Regions from separate parts of the Homo sapiens genome. Here region 1 is linked to region 2. The links are contacts of gene promoters, found by promoter capture Hi-C in human tissues and cell types (Jung and others, 2019). All regions are on one chromosome and are shown on one strand. The core of a region is centred on a gene start or on the middle of the fragment in contact, and the rest is flanking DNA. Distances in the headings are between cores, read along the strand shown.

Region 1 (7,119 bases), core at 4,007-6,506, 59 kb after region 2:
CCCTCTCCAGGGAGACTCTGGCTTCATCTGTGTGCCACAGAGTGACCTGCTCCTTTAACTAGAATTCAGCTCCATCGGCTTGGCAGATACTGACACAAACCCAATGTGTTTTTCATACCACACGGTCCCTAACGCATGCTATTCCTGCATCTTGCCCTCAACCGAAGAAATGGCGATTCGTTCCAATGCAGGCACCTAAACTGACTGTGCTGGCCTGGTGAGAAGAGGGTACAGTCCACATGCAAGCGTGTCATTGGTACCTTGCAGGCCATTTCAGCGATTTTCTGGGGTGCGCTGACTTGAGAGGCATTTCACCTCAGGCCTCGGTGTGAGATGGGAACACCCTATGGGCACCCAGCACAGGGTGTGGGTGACTGTTCCATAGTAGCTGATGTTTGGTAAGTGTTTCTGAGGGGCCAGGCTTTGTCCCAATGTTTTTTTTTTTTCTTCTTTTTTTGAGATGGAGTCTCGCTCTGTCCCCCAGGCTGGAGTGCAGTGGTGCAACCTCAGCTCACTGCAACCTCTGCCTCCTGGGTTCAAGCCATTCTCCTGCCTCAGCCTCCCAAGTGGCTGGGATTACAGGCGCCGCCACCATGCCTGGCTAATTTTTTGTATTTTTAGTAGAGACGGGGTTTCACTATGTTGGCCAGGCTGGTCTTGAACTCCTGACCTCGTGATCCGCCCGCCTCGGCCTCCCAAAGTGCTGGGATTACAGGCGTGAGCCACCGCGCCCGGCTGTCCCAATGTTTTATTAACCGTGTATTGACTTCCTGAACCCTCCCTGGCATTGGCATTGTTGTACAGACAGTGCTGACTGAGGACTTAGGTCTTACCAGGGGCAGCCGGTAAGGGTTTAGTGGGTCAGGCAGCCAGGCCTGCCAGCTACAGGGTCCAGTGGCCCTGAGCTCATTTTGTGGCTGAATGGAGGAATCTGGGTACAGGTACAGGTTTTCTTTTTTTTCTTTTTTCTTTTTTTTTTTTGTGAGACTGAGTCTTGCTCTGTCACCCAGGCTGGAGTGCAGTGGTGCGATCTCAGCTCACTGCAAGCTCCGCCTCCCAGGTTCACGCCATTCTCCTGCCTCAGCCTCCTGAGTAGCTGGGACTACAGGCACCCACCACCACGCCCAGCTAATTTTGTTTTTGTATTTTTAGTAGATACAGGGTTTCACCGTGTTAGCCAGGATGGTCTCGATCTCCTGACCTCGTGGTCTTGATCTTCTGACCTCGTGATCCACCCGCCTCGGCCTCCCAAAGTGCTGGGATTACAGGCGTGAGCTACTGCGCCCGACCGCTTTTTTTTTTGAGACACAGTGTCACTCTGTCGCCCAGGCTAAAGTGCCGTGGCACGATCTCGGCTCACTGCAACTTCTGCCTCCCGGGTTCAAGAGATTCTCTTGCCTCAGCCTCCTGAGTAGCGGGAATTACAGGCACATGACACACACCTGACTAATTTTTGTATTTTTATTTATTTATTTTTTTGAGACAGAGTCCCACTCTGTTGCCCAGGCTGGAGTGCAGTGGCGCAATCCTGGCTCACTGCAACCTCCACTTCCCGGGCTCAAGCGACTCTCCTGCCTCAGCCTCCCAAGTAGCTGGGATTACAGGTGCCTGTCACCATACCTGACTAATTTTTTTTTTTTGTATTTTTAGTAGAGACAAGGTTTCACCATGTTGGCCAGGCTGGTTTCGAACTCCTGACCTCAAGTGATCTGCCCGTCTCGGCCTCCCAAAGTGCTAGAATTACAGGCATGAACCACCGTGCCAGGTCTAATTTTTGTATTTTTAGTAGAGATGGGGTTTCACCATGTTGCCCAGGTTGGTCTCGAACTCCTAACCTCAAGTGATCTGCCCTCCTCATCCTCCCAAAGTGCAGGGATTACAGGTGTCAGCCACTGCATCTGGCCTGGGCACAGTTTTTCAGTGGGAGCCCAGAGGGCACTGATGCCCTCATTTCTCCTTACCAATATCAAGGATGAGAAGAGGGGTCCAAGCAAAGAGACTAACGGTGGGGAAGTGGGCAGCCAGTAGACAGCTGGGCCCAGACCTGTTCTTCCCCCCAACATCCTTCCCCTCTCCTCTTCTCTTTACAATTTAACTTTTTTCTTTTTTTGAGACAGGGTCTCACTCTGTTGCCCAGCCTGGAGTGCAGTGGTATGATCATGGCTCACTGTAGCCTCAGCCTCCTGGGTTCAGGTGATTCTCCTGCTTCAGCCTCATGAGTAGCTGGGACTACAGGTGCTCACCATCACACCCAGCTAATTATTATTATTATTATTTTTTGAGGCAGAGTTTCATTCTTGTTGCCCAGGCTGGAGTGCAATGGCATGATCTCGGCTCACTGCAACCTCTGCTTCCCAGGTTCAAGCGATTCTCCTGCCTCAGCCTCCCGGGTAGCTGGGATTACAGGCATGAGCCACCATGCCCGGCTAATTTTGTATTTTTAGTAGAGACGGGTTTCTCCATGTTGGTCAGGCTGGTCTCGAACTTCCAACCTCAGGTGATTCACCTGCCTTGGCCTCCCAAAGTGCTGGGATTACAGGCGTGAGCCACTGAGCCCAGCCTGCTATTGTTTTTTAATTTTAATTTTTTGTAGAGATGAAGCTTTTGCCATGTTGCCCAAGCTGGTCTTGAACTCCTGGGCTCAGGTGATCCACCCACCTTGGCCTCTCAGCGTTGGGATTACAGGCCTGAGCCACTGCACTTGGCCTACAGTTTAATATTTTAAACCATTTTTTCCTTCATTATAGAAAAGTTCAAACAAACACAGAAATAGGATAGTATGATAAACTCCACTAGCCAGCACCTAGCATCAACAATTAGCAATAGTTAATCAGATTTCCCCTGAAGACCTCCACTGTCCTACTATTGGATGATTTTGAAGTAAATCCTACCTAGACTTATTTGGAAATACTTTATTATGTCTCTAAAACATAAGGATGTATTGTAACAAAATCTTTCAAAGCTAAAACTCCTATCATCTGCAAACCTTTGGGTAAATCCATTAATACATGGCTCAGATGAGCAAACCAGTGCAGTGGTTGCTGAAAACTGTAGGCCAGATGGGGCTGGTGGTCTTGGAGCCACTGGAATGAGGGCACGTGTGTTAAAAATACAGATCCCCAGCCGGTGCCTTGGGTCACGCCTGTAACCCCAGCACTATGGGAGGCTGAGGAGCGAGGATCACTCCAGGCTGGGAGTTTGAGACCAGCCTGGTCAACACAGGGAGAATCCCGTCTCTACAAAAAATATCGGGCTTGGTGGCGCACACCTGTAGTCCCAGCTACTTAGGAGGCCAAGGCGGGAGGATCGCTTGAGCCCGGGAGTTCAAAGCTTCAGTGCGTTATGAGTTTGCCTGTGAATAGCCACTGAACTCCAGACTGGGCTACAGGGCGAGACCCTGTCGAAAAAAAAAAAAAAAGGAAAGAAAAGAAAGAAAGGAAGGAAGGAAGAAAAAGAAAGAAAGAAAAGAAAAGAAAGAAAGAGAAAGAAAGAAAAGAAAGAAAGAACGAAAGAAAGAAAGAAAAAGAAAGAAAGAAAGAAAGAAAGAAAGAAAGAAAGAAAGAAAGAAAGAAAGAAAGAAAGAAAGAGAGAAAAAGAAAGAAAAAGAAAAGACAGACCCCAAAAATCCCCAAATAGATCCCTCGACTGAGCTCTGGGGACCCGTACTGAAGAGGTCTGGGTAGGACCTCCCCGCCTCCTCAGGGGAGTAAGCGGCGTGGGCCGTGCCAGCGGGGGTGACCCCGGGGGCTGTGTATGGGTGGGGGCGCACCCCGAACTGAGCCCACGGGGCGCTGTCCCGCCTGCAGATGTTCGGGCAGCGGCGCAGCGCGCAGGCGTTGGAGCTGGCGCACATGCTGTACTATCGCAGTACGTCCAACAACTCGGAGCTGCTCAGCGCCCTGGCCCTGCGCGCGCAGGACGAGCACACCAAGGAGGCGCTGCTGGCTCACAGCTTCCTGGCCCGGCGGCCAGGGGGCACTCAAGGCTCGCCCGAAGGTAGGACGTGGCCCTGGGACCCTGCCCCCAGGGGCCACACCCCCGCGAGGCCCCGCCCCAGCGAGATGCGTCCCCACCCCCAGTTCCCACGGGTGAACCTGACGGGTTTGCGAAGAGACCCCGGCCCTCAGCAGACAGGACCTCCGAATCCAGACTCCGATCTTGGTGCCTGATGTGACAGCCCTTTCTTAACCTCAGCCTGGTTGGGAGTCTTGGCTCCATGGCACGGCCCCCTCCTGTCATTCTTTCCTCTACCTGAGCTGACACTCTCCCTACAAGAGATCCTGCGCGCTCCCTGTGTGGGCTCCAGGTGGTCCCCTTGCCTACAGGAGCCCCCACCTTCCCTGCCCAAGAGCCCCTGACTGGTCCCCAGACGAAAGCCCCAGAGCTGGGCCTTCTGGCCCTCTCGACCCTCCTGGGCCTTGTTCCGCTCCCCTCCAAGCCTCAAGATCACTCCTAGGCTTCTCCCAAACCCAGGCCCTTCCTGTTCTTTGCCCTACGCCCCTCCTTGCTGCTCCCTCGAATCTTCCCCGATCTCAGTGTGACCTCAGAACACCTGCCTCTCCCCTTGCAGAGACCTCCAGGTGGCTCCGGTCGGAGGTGGAGAACTGGCTCCTAGCCAAGTCAGGCTGTGAGGTGACCTTCAACGGAACTCGGGCCCTGGCGCATCTGCAGGCCCTGACCCCCAGCATGGGATTGTACCCACCCCCGGGTTTCCCCAAACTAGACCCAGTGGCTCCGATCACTTCCGAGCCCCCGCAAGCCACGCCCAGCAGTAACATCTCCTGAGTAGAACCTACCTCCCTGCCCAGTCAGCAGGCTAGGAACTAAGCCCCGCCTCCTTCACGACAGGCTGTCAATTACGGTTATTATACTTTTCACTCCAACTTCCAATAACTGACAGGTGATTATTTTTGCTGCACTGTGTGCTTAAGCAAAGCAGCCAATCAAAGCAGCTAGCAGTTGTTAAGTCTTCCCCGCCCCTTCGATGAACAGCCAATCAAAGCGATTTAGCTCTGCTTCTGTTCCATTTCTTAGTCCCACCCTCACCATAAACATCCAAGTGTGGTTTGGCTGAGGAGCTGAGGGTGTCTGCCAATCACAGCTGCTCAGCTCTGGCTTCTGTAAACCGCCAGGTAGAAGAGTTAAAGCTGCGCCCTCCCGAGACTATATATCATTGTCTTTTTCAGCCCGCTCCGGGCAAACTGCCCATCATGTGCACCAAGGCCGTTAGCCCTGCCTCCTGGCAAACGTCCAGTGACAGCTGCTGGGTTCCATCAACTTTGGGCAGCCGGTTGTCGCTGCAGGGAAGGAACCAATAAGAATTTCTAAAGGAAACCTGATCTTGCTATCAATTGCTGCTGCTTAAATGGCAGGCCAACTGGTCAGCTGCTGATCAGGGTGTCTAGGCTGAAGGAGTTGGAGACCTTGTGCTAGGTAGGTGAACCAGAAACCACCCTCGCCACCAAGACTCGCTCCCAACCTGGCTCCCGGCAACCTCAGGTGCCTTCCTCGCCCAGGTCTTTCACCCTTTCTACAGAAACTACCTCGGTCTGGATCTCCCCACCACCAGCAGCCTGTGCAATATTTATTGGTCTATCAATTTCTCCCGTCTCCTGTCCCAAAGTAATAAATCATGTTTAATAAGTCTGGATGAGGCTACTCTTAACGCACTGCCTTTAGGGTAACCCTGCTCTGTAGGAGTGGTTAAAAAATTATTTTTAAAAATCTAGATGAGTGGGATGGCTGCAGGAGTTGGAGGGAAGGAAAGCATTTGAATCCTGGAAAGAGGGGAGGGACTCTAGCTAGGTCTTGGGGTCCCAGACAGAGAAAGCTGTAGTCCTAAAAAGAGGCTGGGTTCATGGTCGGTGAAACAAAGACAGTCATAGAAGAGGATCTTAGAAGGATCTGATTCCAGAGGAGTCCCAGGGCCTGATGAACAGAGGAGATAGCGTAGCCATGTGCGATTGTGCAGATTTGCAGATTTTTTTTTGTTCTTGAGATGGAGTTTCGCGCTTGTTGCCCAGGCTGGAATGCAATGGCATGATCTTGGCTCACTGCAACCTCCGCCTCCTGGGTTCAAGTGATTCTCCTGCCTCAGCCTCCCGAGTAGCTGGGAGGCGCCTGCCACCGCGCCTGGCTAATTTTTTGTATTTTCAGTAGAGACGGGGTTTCACCATGTTGGCCAGGCTGGTCTCGAACTCCTGACCTCAGGTGATCCACCTGCCTCAGCCTCCCAAAGTACTGGGATTACAGGCGTGAGCCACCGCACCCGGCCTGTGCAGATTGTTAACTGCACAAAGGAACACAGCCACGGGTGGGTGGCTGTAAGACCCAGCCCATACCCCTACATGTATCCTGGTGTGGGGCTGGGTCAGCCAGAAGAAGGGGTGCCTCCTAATTTTTGCTAACGTGTCATATGGGCTAGAGGCAGCCTTTGGGGAGACAGGGGAAGTCTCCCTCTCTAGGACCCCAAATGTTCAGTCCCTAGAGAGGGAGACTGGGCTGGGCGCGGTGGCTCCCGCCTGTAATCCCAGCACTTTGGGAGGCTGAGGTGGGTGGATCACCTGAGGTCAGGAGTTCAAGACCAGCCTGGCCAACATGGTGAAACCCCGTGTCTACTAAAGATACAAAAATTAGCCGGACGTGGTGGTGGGCGCCTGTAATCCCAGCTGCTCAGGAGGCTGAGGCAGGAGAATTGCTTGAACCCGGGAGGCGGAGGTTGCAGTGAGTGAAGATCGCACCACTGCACTACAGCCTAGGTGACAGAGCGAGACTCCGTCTCAAAAAAAAAAAAAAAAAAAAAAAAGAGAGAGAGGGAGACTGGTTTCCTAGAGGGAAAAAGAAAGCTGTCTTCCCAAATGGAAAGTTAGTAGAAAGAAAAAAGAGTCCAGAACTAGCCGGGTGTGGTGGCTCGTGCCTGTAGTCCCAGCTACTCGGGAGGCTGAGGCAGGAGAATCGCTTCAACCCGGGAGGCGGAGGTTGCAGTGAGCTGAGATCGTACCACTGCACTCCAACCTGGACAGAAAGAAAAAAAGAGTCCGACAATCTAGAAACACACACTATGCCCGGGGTTCAGAGAGAGAGAGCAACAGAGTGACAGAAGCTTGAGCAAGGAGACAG
Region 2 (6,992 bases), core at 3,160-5,659:
GGTCCTGTTCTTTCCCAGGACCCAGGAGGCCAGGCCCCTCCTGCCCCAAGACTCTGGAACTCCAGTGCCCAGCCTCCTCTCCCTGCAGGAACCAAGAGTCCAGGTCCCCAGCTCCCCTCTTCCCCCAAGGACCCAGGAGTCCGGGTTCCGGCTCCTGTCCTCCCTTAAGGATCCCCTTTTGGTTTCAAACCCTATCCTTCCCAACATCCTGGGTGCCCCCCCACCGAGCTCTGGCCTCCCTAGTCACCCCACTTAGATCCTGTACATAGCACAGCCTGTCCCCAAGCGGGGAGGAGGAGGAGGGTGCCAGAAATTCCTAGGGTGTCCCTGTCTTCATTGCCCCCCACAGCATCCAACAGAGAAGAGAGGAGCGGCCACTTCGATCAACAGCTCCCCCCACAACCTCGAGTTGTGCTGCAGACGGCATCCCGTTTCCTCCCCCCTCACCTCCCAACACACACACACAACATCGGTCTCTCCCCACCCGAATCCTGATGCTTGGAAGAGGCTGGAAGGGTGTTCCAGAACCTTGAGGAAGGGGTGGGAGCTTGGGGCGAGGGGTGCTGGGGGCCTGGATGCCCTCAAGGTCCTTGGCGGGGGTATTAATAGCAGACTCATAGCTCTGACATGGGAGGGGAGAGCGAGAGGAGAGAGGGAGAGGACCGGCTCGCGATGGGGGGACTGATGCAGGGAGGGGGGTACAGGGAGAAGGTGAGATAGAGAGATGGAGGCACAGGGATATGGGGCATCAGGTATGTGGGGATGGGGAGAGGGAGCCAAGTGTCAGAGAAATGGGGGCGTGAAAGGTCTGAGGTGTAGGGACTCAGGAAAAAGGGGCTCAGAGAGGGAGAGAGAGAGGGTGGAGGAGAGTCCCTGAGGGACAGGGGAGCTAGGTGGGGGTCAAGACCCCTGCCCACCGTTCAAACCCCCTCCCTCCACGAGGCTTCTTGCCAACTTCCTCTGTCCTAGATTTGGGGGTCCACATTCCCACCACCATCCCTGCATCCCCTGTCCCCGCCTTACCTTTTCATGACCCTGTTCTGTTGGGGGGATGGCGGGGGGGCCAGGACCGGAACCCGGCGTCCAGCGACCCCAAGATTCCGAGGAGGGCTCAGAGAGCCGATGTCGGGGGGCAGGCCCCGGGGCGGCGGCAGTGGTGGTGGCGGCAGCAGCGGCAGCCCGGACCTCCTGTCTGTCCCTGGCTCCGTCTCTCCTTCCTCTTCCTTGGTCCTGTCCTGCCCTGTCTCTCCCCCAAGGTTGCGGCCACCTGGACTAGGCGAGGACGTGGCTACACATGTTGCTCTGGAAGTTGGGCCCCGGACATTGCAGAGGCTGTCGGGGTGTCCTCTTGCCGCCCCGACCCCGTGGGGATCCCCCCTCCGCCCACCCGGGGTGCCCCCCTCTGCCGCTTCAGCCCCGGCTCCTCCCCCCTTTCCATGTGTCCAGTCCCGCCTCTCCCTGGCTCACTCGCACCCCCGCTTTGTGCCCTCAGCCCCCCCACCCCCCCTTCCAGCGTCTGTGTCTATCTGTCTGTCTGGGTCACCTCTGAAGCTAGTGGCTGGTGTGTGCGTGTGAGGAGCGGGAGATTGCCTGCTTGGGGAACTGCTTGCCCCTTCCTCGCTTGGCCACCTCTAGACCCCCCCTTGACTCCCCCACTCTCAAACACAGGCAGAAACACACATACACTCACGCACACACGCACGATCTCACTTCCCTGGGATTCCCCCTCAACACCCCCAGAGCTTGAGGAGGGACACACACACAGACACACACACACAGAGTGGGGGGTCTAATGGGGGCCAGGCTGCCACTGCTGATAGGGGCTGTTTGGACAGACAGGAGGACACAGGCAGCCGGGGACGCCCAGACGCCTGGCCGGACGCAGGCAGGAGGCACAGAACCCAGGTACACACCATCCATCTGGGTTTGGGGGGGCCGGGGGGAAGGAGCGGGAGCCCCACGACACCCAGGCAGGCAGCTCAGGGTCGGTACAGACAGACAGACCCCTCCCTCCCTCCGCCGCCGCAGCGCTTACAGACACACCCCCCCTCCACCAGCCAGCCCCAGACACCCGGACACACAGATCCTCACCGGGCAGATGGCAGACGCTCGAGAGACCCCTGGGGGCCGGGCCGACCTACCCAGGCAACACCCCCAGCAGGCACCGGTGGCCGAGGGAGGCTGCGGGAGGCTGCGGGCGAGGGTGGCGGCGGCGGCCGCGGCTTGGAGGAGCTGGAGCGGGAGGGACTCACACACTCGCTGTGTTCTCGCACACACACACTCACTCGGGATGCGATTAACATTCAGTCCCCGTCTGCCACTGCCGGGAGACCCACAGCCCCCCCTCCTGGCCTCCCTGGGGACCCCTTCTCCTGCCAGGCTTGGGGAGGGGGCCGCCCCCCACCCCTAGCTACCAGCCTCTGCCTTCCTCCTGGGACAAGGGAGTGAGGGGCTGAAAATAAAAAGGGAGGAAGAAGTCAGGCTGGGGACAGGCAGGCAGGGACTCAGAACCCGGTATGGAGACACCAGCTTCAGAGCTAGACTCCAGGGCTGGGGGTTGCTGCCCTCTGCCCCCGCCCTGCCTTGAGGCTCTGGAAACAGGAGGCCTTTCCCTGACTTCAGTGTTCGCCACACTAAGACCCAAGCTGTGGCTTTTATTGCCCCAGAAGGCCAGGCCTGAAAACCAGGTCTCGACCCTGGTCCCAGGAGTCCCACCCCCCAGCCCCTCCTCCCTCAGACCCAGGAGTCCCCTTCTCTACTGGGACCCAGGAATTTGGGGACCGCCTCCAAGTCGGAGTCTCTTTTAAGGACTCAGTCATCCCGACTCTCCCCCGTACAAGCCACCCTCAGGGACCCAAGACTCGTGGATGTCACCCTTGGGCACCCCGTCCTTCCAGCCCTCTGAAGAAATCAACACGCCTGCACCCCTTCTTTTATTGAGGGACCCTGGCCTCCATCATCTGTGGGTACCCCATCATCCGGAAGGGAAGCCACGTCTGTCCCCTCATAGATGCAGGAGTCCAGACCACAGGCTGTTCCCCGGGGGTCCCACACCCAGATGCCCAGCATTCCCCTCCTGCTAGAGGGCTGGGCCCGGCACTTTTATAAAGCCACCCGTGGGGCTCTGGGGTAGAGCGTGGGGCAGGACACCGGGGCCTCTGAGGGTGGAAGAGGGTGTGTGTGTGTGGGCAGGGCAGAAACTCTGGAGCAGGGGGGAAGCCAGGGCCAGGGGCTCCTGAGGTAGTTTGGGTCAGAGTTTTGGCCTTGAGCCTCCTGGGTGAGGCTCCTGTTTCCTTCATCCTCAAGGTCTGGGAGAACAGGGTGAGGTGCACATTCCTGAAAAAGAAGAGAATCAGGGCCTAAATCTGTGGGTCGTAAAGGGAGAAACTGTAGATCTAGATTCTTAAGGTTAGGATGTTTGATCCATAAGATGGTGGGGGTGGGACCCTAAGTTCCAAGGAACAGCGTCCTAGGAGGGAAAAGGGCTGGGGCCCTGAACTCCTGGGTCTGAGGGAGGAGGGGCTGGGGCCCTGGACCCCTGGGTCTGAGGGAGGAGGGGCTGGGGCCCTGGACCCCTGGGTCTGAGGGAGGAGGGGCTGGGGCCCTGGACCCCTGGGTCTGAGGGAGGAGGGGCTGGGGATCTGGACTCCTGGGTCTGAGGGAGGAGGTGCTGGGGGTCTGGACTCCTGGGTCTGAGGGAGGAAGGGCTGGGGGCCTGGACTCCTGGATCTGGGGGAGGAGGGTCTGGGGGCCTGGAGTCCTGGGTCTGAGGGAGGAGGCTGGGGGCCTGGACTCCTGGGTCTGAGGGAGGAGGCTGGGGGCCTGGACTCCTGGGTCTGAGCGAGGAGGAGCTGGGCCTGGACTCCTGGATCTGAGGGAGGAGGGGCTGGGGGTCTGGACTTCTGGGTCTGAGGGAGGAGAGGCTGGGGGTCTGGACTCCTGGGTCTGAGGGAGGAGGGGCTGGGGACCCAGACTTCTGGGTTTGACGAACGGGCTGGGGCCTTGAGTCCTGGGTCTAGGGGAGGAAGTAGGTGGGGTATCTTTCTTGTCTTCTGGGGGATTGGAGTTAGAGTGCCTGAAAGCTGCAAAAGCTAGCAGCTGAGCCTCCGGGTCCCTGCAGGATTTTTCAAGCTCAGAGGGCAGTCTCTACATCCCTGCAAGGGCTGAGGCTGGTGTACTGGACTGCGTCTCTTCCAGAGACACAGACTGCCTGGGCGAACCGGTGCTGGATTTGGCACTTTCCGAACCCTGCGACCCTCCCAAGTTCCTATGGGGCAGCTTTGGGGGTGCGTTTAGCGCCGCCACGGCAAAGCAGGAGGTGGGCGATAGGGGGCGCCGGGGATCCAGGCCCCGCCCTCGGGGGCGGAGCCTCTCCTCCCGGACTCCTCCCCCTCTCGCTCTCCTCCCTCTTCCCGGCTCCAGCTCCGCCGCCAGCTCCAGCCTTTGCTCCCCCTCCCAAAGTCCCCTCCCCGGAGCGGAGCGCACCTAGGGTCCCTCTTCCGTCCCCCCAGCCCAGCTACCCGTTCAGACCAGCAGCCTCGGGGGGCACCCCCCCGCCAGCCTGCCTCCCTCCCGCTCAGCCCTGCCAGGGTTCCCCAGCCATGAATCTCTTCCGATTCCTGGGAGACCTCTCCCACCTCCTCGCCATCATCTTGCTACTGCTCAAAATCTGGAAGTCCCGCTCGTGCGCCGGTGAGAGGCCCACCAGGGCTGGCGAAGGAGAGAGATTGCGGGCGGGGGTTGGGGGACGTCGCAGGACTCAGGAAGGGTTTGGGGGCACTAGGGGCACAGGTTCCACCCCCACTGCTTGCTGGGGATCTCTCTTCTAGGTTCTGGGTCTCCAGGGGATCAGCTCCCTTCCCCAGACTGGCGGGGGTGCATACAGTTTCATGTGAATGGCTTTAGGCCCCCAATTCAGCCACCCCCAGCCCCAATCTGGGCAGCCCGAGGGTTCATGGACCGGGAACAGGGAACCATGGCAGGCGGGGAGGTGGCTGTGAGTTGGTGACGTGGACCGTGGCGGCCAGGAAGGGAACGGGAGGGAGGTGACCGGATCCGGGGCCTGAGGTCAGGGAAGGTCCTCCCTAGGCCTCACCTCAGGTCCAGACTGCGGGAGGACCCTGAGGGGCCAGGGGTAGCCATGAGGCCTAGTCTGGGACGGAGCCTCGGGCTGGAGTAGCTTCGGGGGCCTGGGCTGCCCCCTGGCTGTGGTCCGTGGGAAAGGGCCCTGCTCAGGCGGGGCGGGCTGGGGAGGCCTCCGGGGACAGCTGCACTCCAGAGCTGCCTCCAGGCTGGTCCCGGGCGCCCTGCCTTAGTTTATTGCCCATGCAGCCCACCCCCAGCTTCCTCTCTCCTTCTGTCTGTCTGTCTGTCTGTCTGTCTCTCTCTCTCTCTCTGTCTCTCTCTCTCTCTCTTTCTCTGTCTCTGGACCACAGGAATTTCAGGGAAGAGCCAGGTCCTGTTTGCTGTGGTGTTCACTGCCCGATATCTGGACCTCTTCACCAACTACATCTCACTCTACAACACGTGTATGAAGGTAGAGGCTCCACCCCACCTCTCTGGCCCCCACTGAGGCAGAGGAGCCGGGTGTGGGTCCCAGACTCCTAGGTCTGAGGGAGGAGGGGCTGGGGGCCTGGACTCCTGGGTCTGAGGGAGGAGGGGCCGGGGGCCTGGACTCTTGGGTCTGAGGGAAGAAGGGACTGAGGCCTGGACTCCTGGGTCTGAGGGAGGAGGGGTTGGGGGTCTGGACTCCTGGGTCTGAGGGAGGAGGGGCCGGGGGCCTGGACTTTTGGGTCTGAGGGAGGAAGGGACTGGGGCCTGGACTCCTGGGTCTGAGGGAGGAGGGGCTGGGCCTGGACTCTTGGGTCTGAGGGAGGAGGGGCTGGGCCTGGACTCCTGGATCTGAGGGAGGAGGGAATGGGGCCCTGGACTCCTGGGTCTGAGGGAGGAGGGGCTGGGGGCCTGGACTCCAGGGTCTGAGGGAGGAGGGGTTGGGGGCCTGGACTCCTGGGTCTGAGGGAGGAGGGGCTGGGGGCTTGGACTCCTGGATCTGAGGGAGGAGGGGTTGGGGGCCTGGACTCCTGGGTCTGAGGGAGGAGGGGCTGGGGGCTTGGACTCCTGGGTCTGAGGGAGGAGGGGTTGGGGGTCTGGACTCCTGCGTCTGAGGGAGGGGCCTGGACTCCGGGCTCTGAGCCTACTGGGGCACAGGCCTGTGAGTTGAGGCCCCTTCTCATCATCCCCCTCCTCAGGTGGTCTACATAGCCTGCTCCTTCACCACGGTCTGGTTGATTTATAGCAAGTTCAAAGCTACTTACGATGGGAACCATGACACGTTCAGAGTGGAGTTCCTGGTCGTTCCCACAGCCATTCTGGCGTTCCTGGTCAATCATGACTTCACCCCTCTGGAGGTAGGCGCCTTGCTGTGACTCCTTATTTGGGGGGATGGTTGTGGCAGAGTAGCTATGACAGGAGACCCTCTCACAGGCTTCCTTCTGCAGGGTGTGCCCAAACTGCCTTATTTTAGGATGCATAAGTTCAGTGCATGGGCTCTGGGGTCAGAGGAAATTAACACAACAGCAGCAAGACTCGCTATGTGTCAGTCACTACCCTAAGCATTTCACCTACTTACTTTTCTCAGCAGCCCCACTTTACAGATGAGGAAACTGAGGCTTAGGGATTCTTTTTTTTCTGGAGACAAAGTCTCGCTCTGTTGCCCAGACTGGAGTGCAGTGGCATGATCTCGGCTCACTGCAACCCCCGCCTCCCAGGTTCAAGCAATTATCCTACCTCAGCCTCCCGAGTAGTTGGGAAGACAGGTGCACATCACCATGCTCTGCTAATTTTTGTATTTTTAGTCCAGACAGGGTTTCACATGTTGACCAGGCTGGTCTTGAACTCCTGGGCTCAAATAATCTGCCTGTCTTGGCCTCCCAAAGTGCTGGGATTACAGGCGTGAGCCACCATTCCTGGCCCAGCCTTCTTGAATTTGAATT

Evidence for each region. Contacts are between HindIII fragments. The study calls those that stand out against the background at their distance.
Region 1: a fragment that was not itself captured here is called in contact with the fragment with the promoter of KDELR1 in region 2 in 1 of the 25 tissues and cell types used here (hippocampus).

What each region holds. Positions count from the first base shown.
Region 1 is chr19:48,330,885-48,338,003 of GRCh38, reverse strand. TMEM143 (transmembrane protein 143) reads left to right here. Exons shown (of 8, transcript NM_018273.4): 7 at 3,807-3,996; 8 at 4,571-5,648. The coding sequence ends at 4,785. Among named protein-coding and RNA genes, the nearest start is that of EMP3, 8.9 kb to the right of the region's middle. RefSeq lists a silencer at 3,611-4,130 and enhancers at 4,471-4,520, 4,531-4,620, 4,011-4,746. The HindIII fragment of the contact is 4,580 bases long and covers 2,967-7,119 here.
Region 2 is chr19:48,388,968-48,395,959 of GRCh38, reverse strand. It overlaps KDELR1 (KDEL endoplasmic reticulum protein retention receptor 1), which reads left to right and starts at 4,409. Exons shown (of 5, transcript NM_006801.3): 1 at 4,409-4,692; 2 at 5,436-5,536; 3 at 6,249-6,407. The coding sequence starts at 4,602. GRIN2D (glutamate ionotropic receptor NMDA type subunit 2D) reads right to left here and starts at 2,292. Exons shown (of 14, transcript NM_000836.4): 1 at 2,092-2,292; 2 at 1,024-1,302. RefSeq lists a silencer at 4,253-4,572 and an enhancer at 5,443-5,582. The HindIII fragment of the contact is 17,535 bases long and covers 1-6,992 here.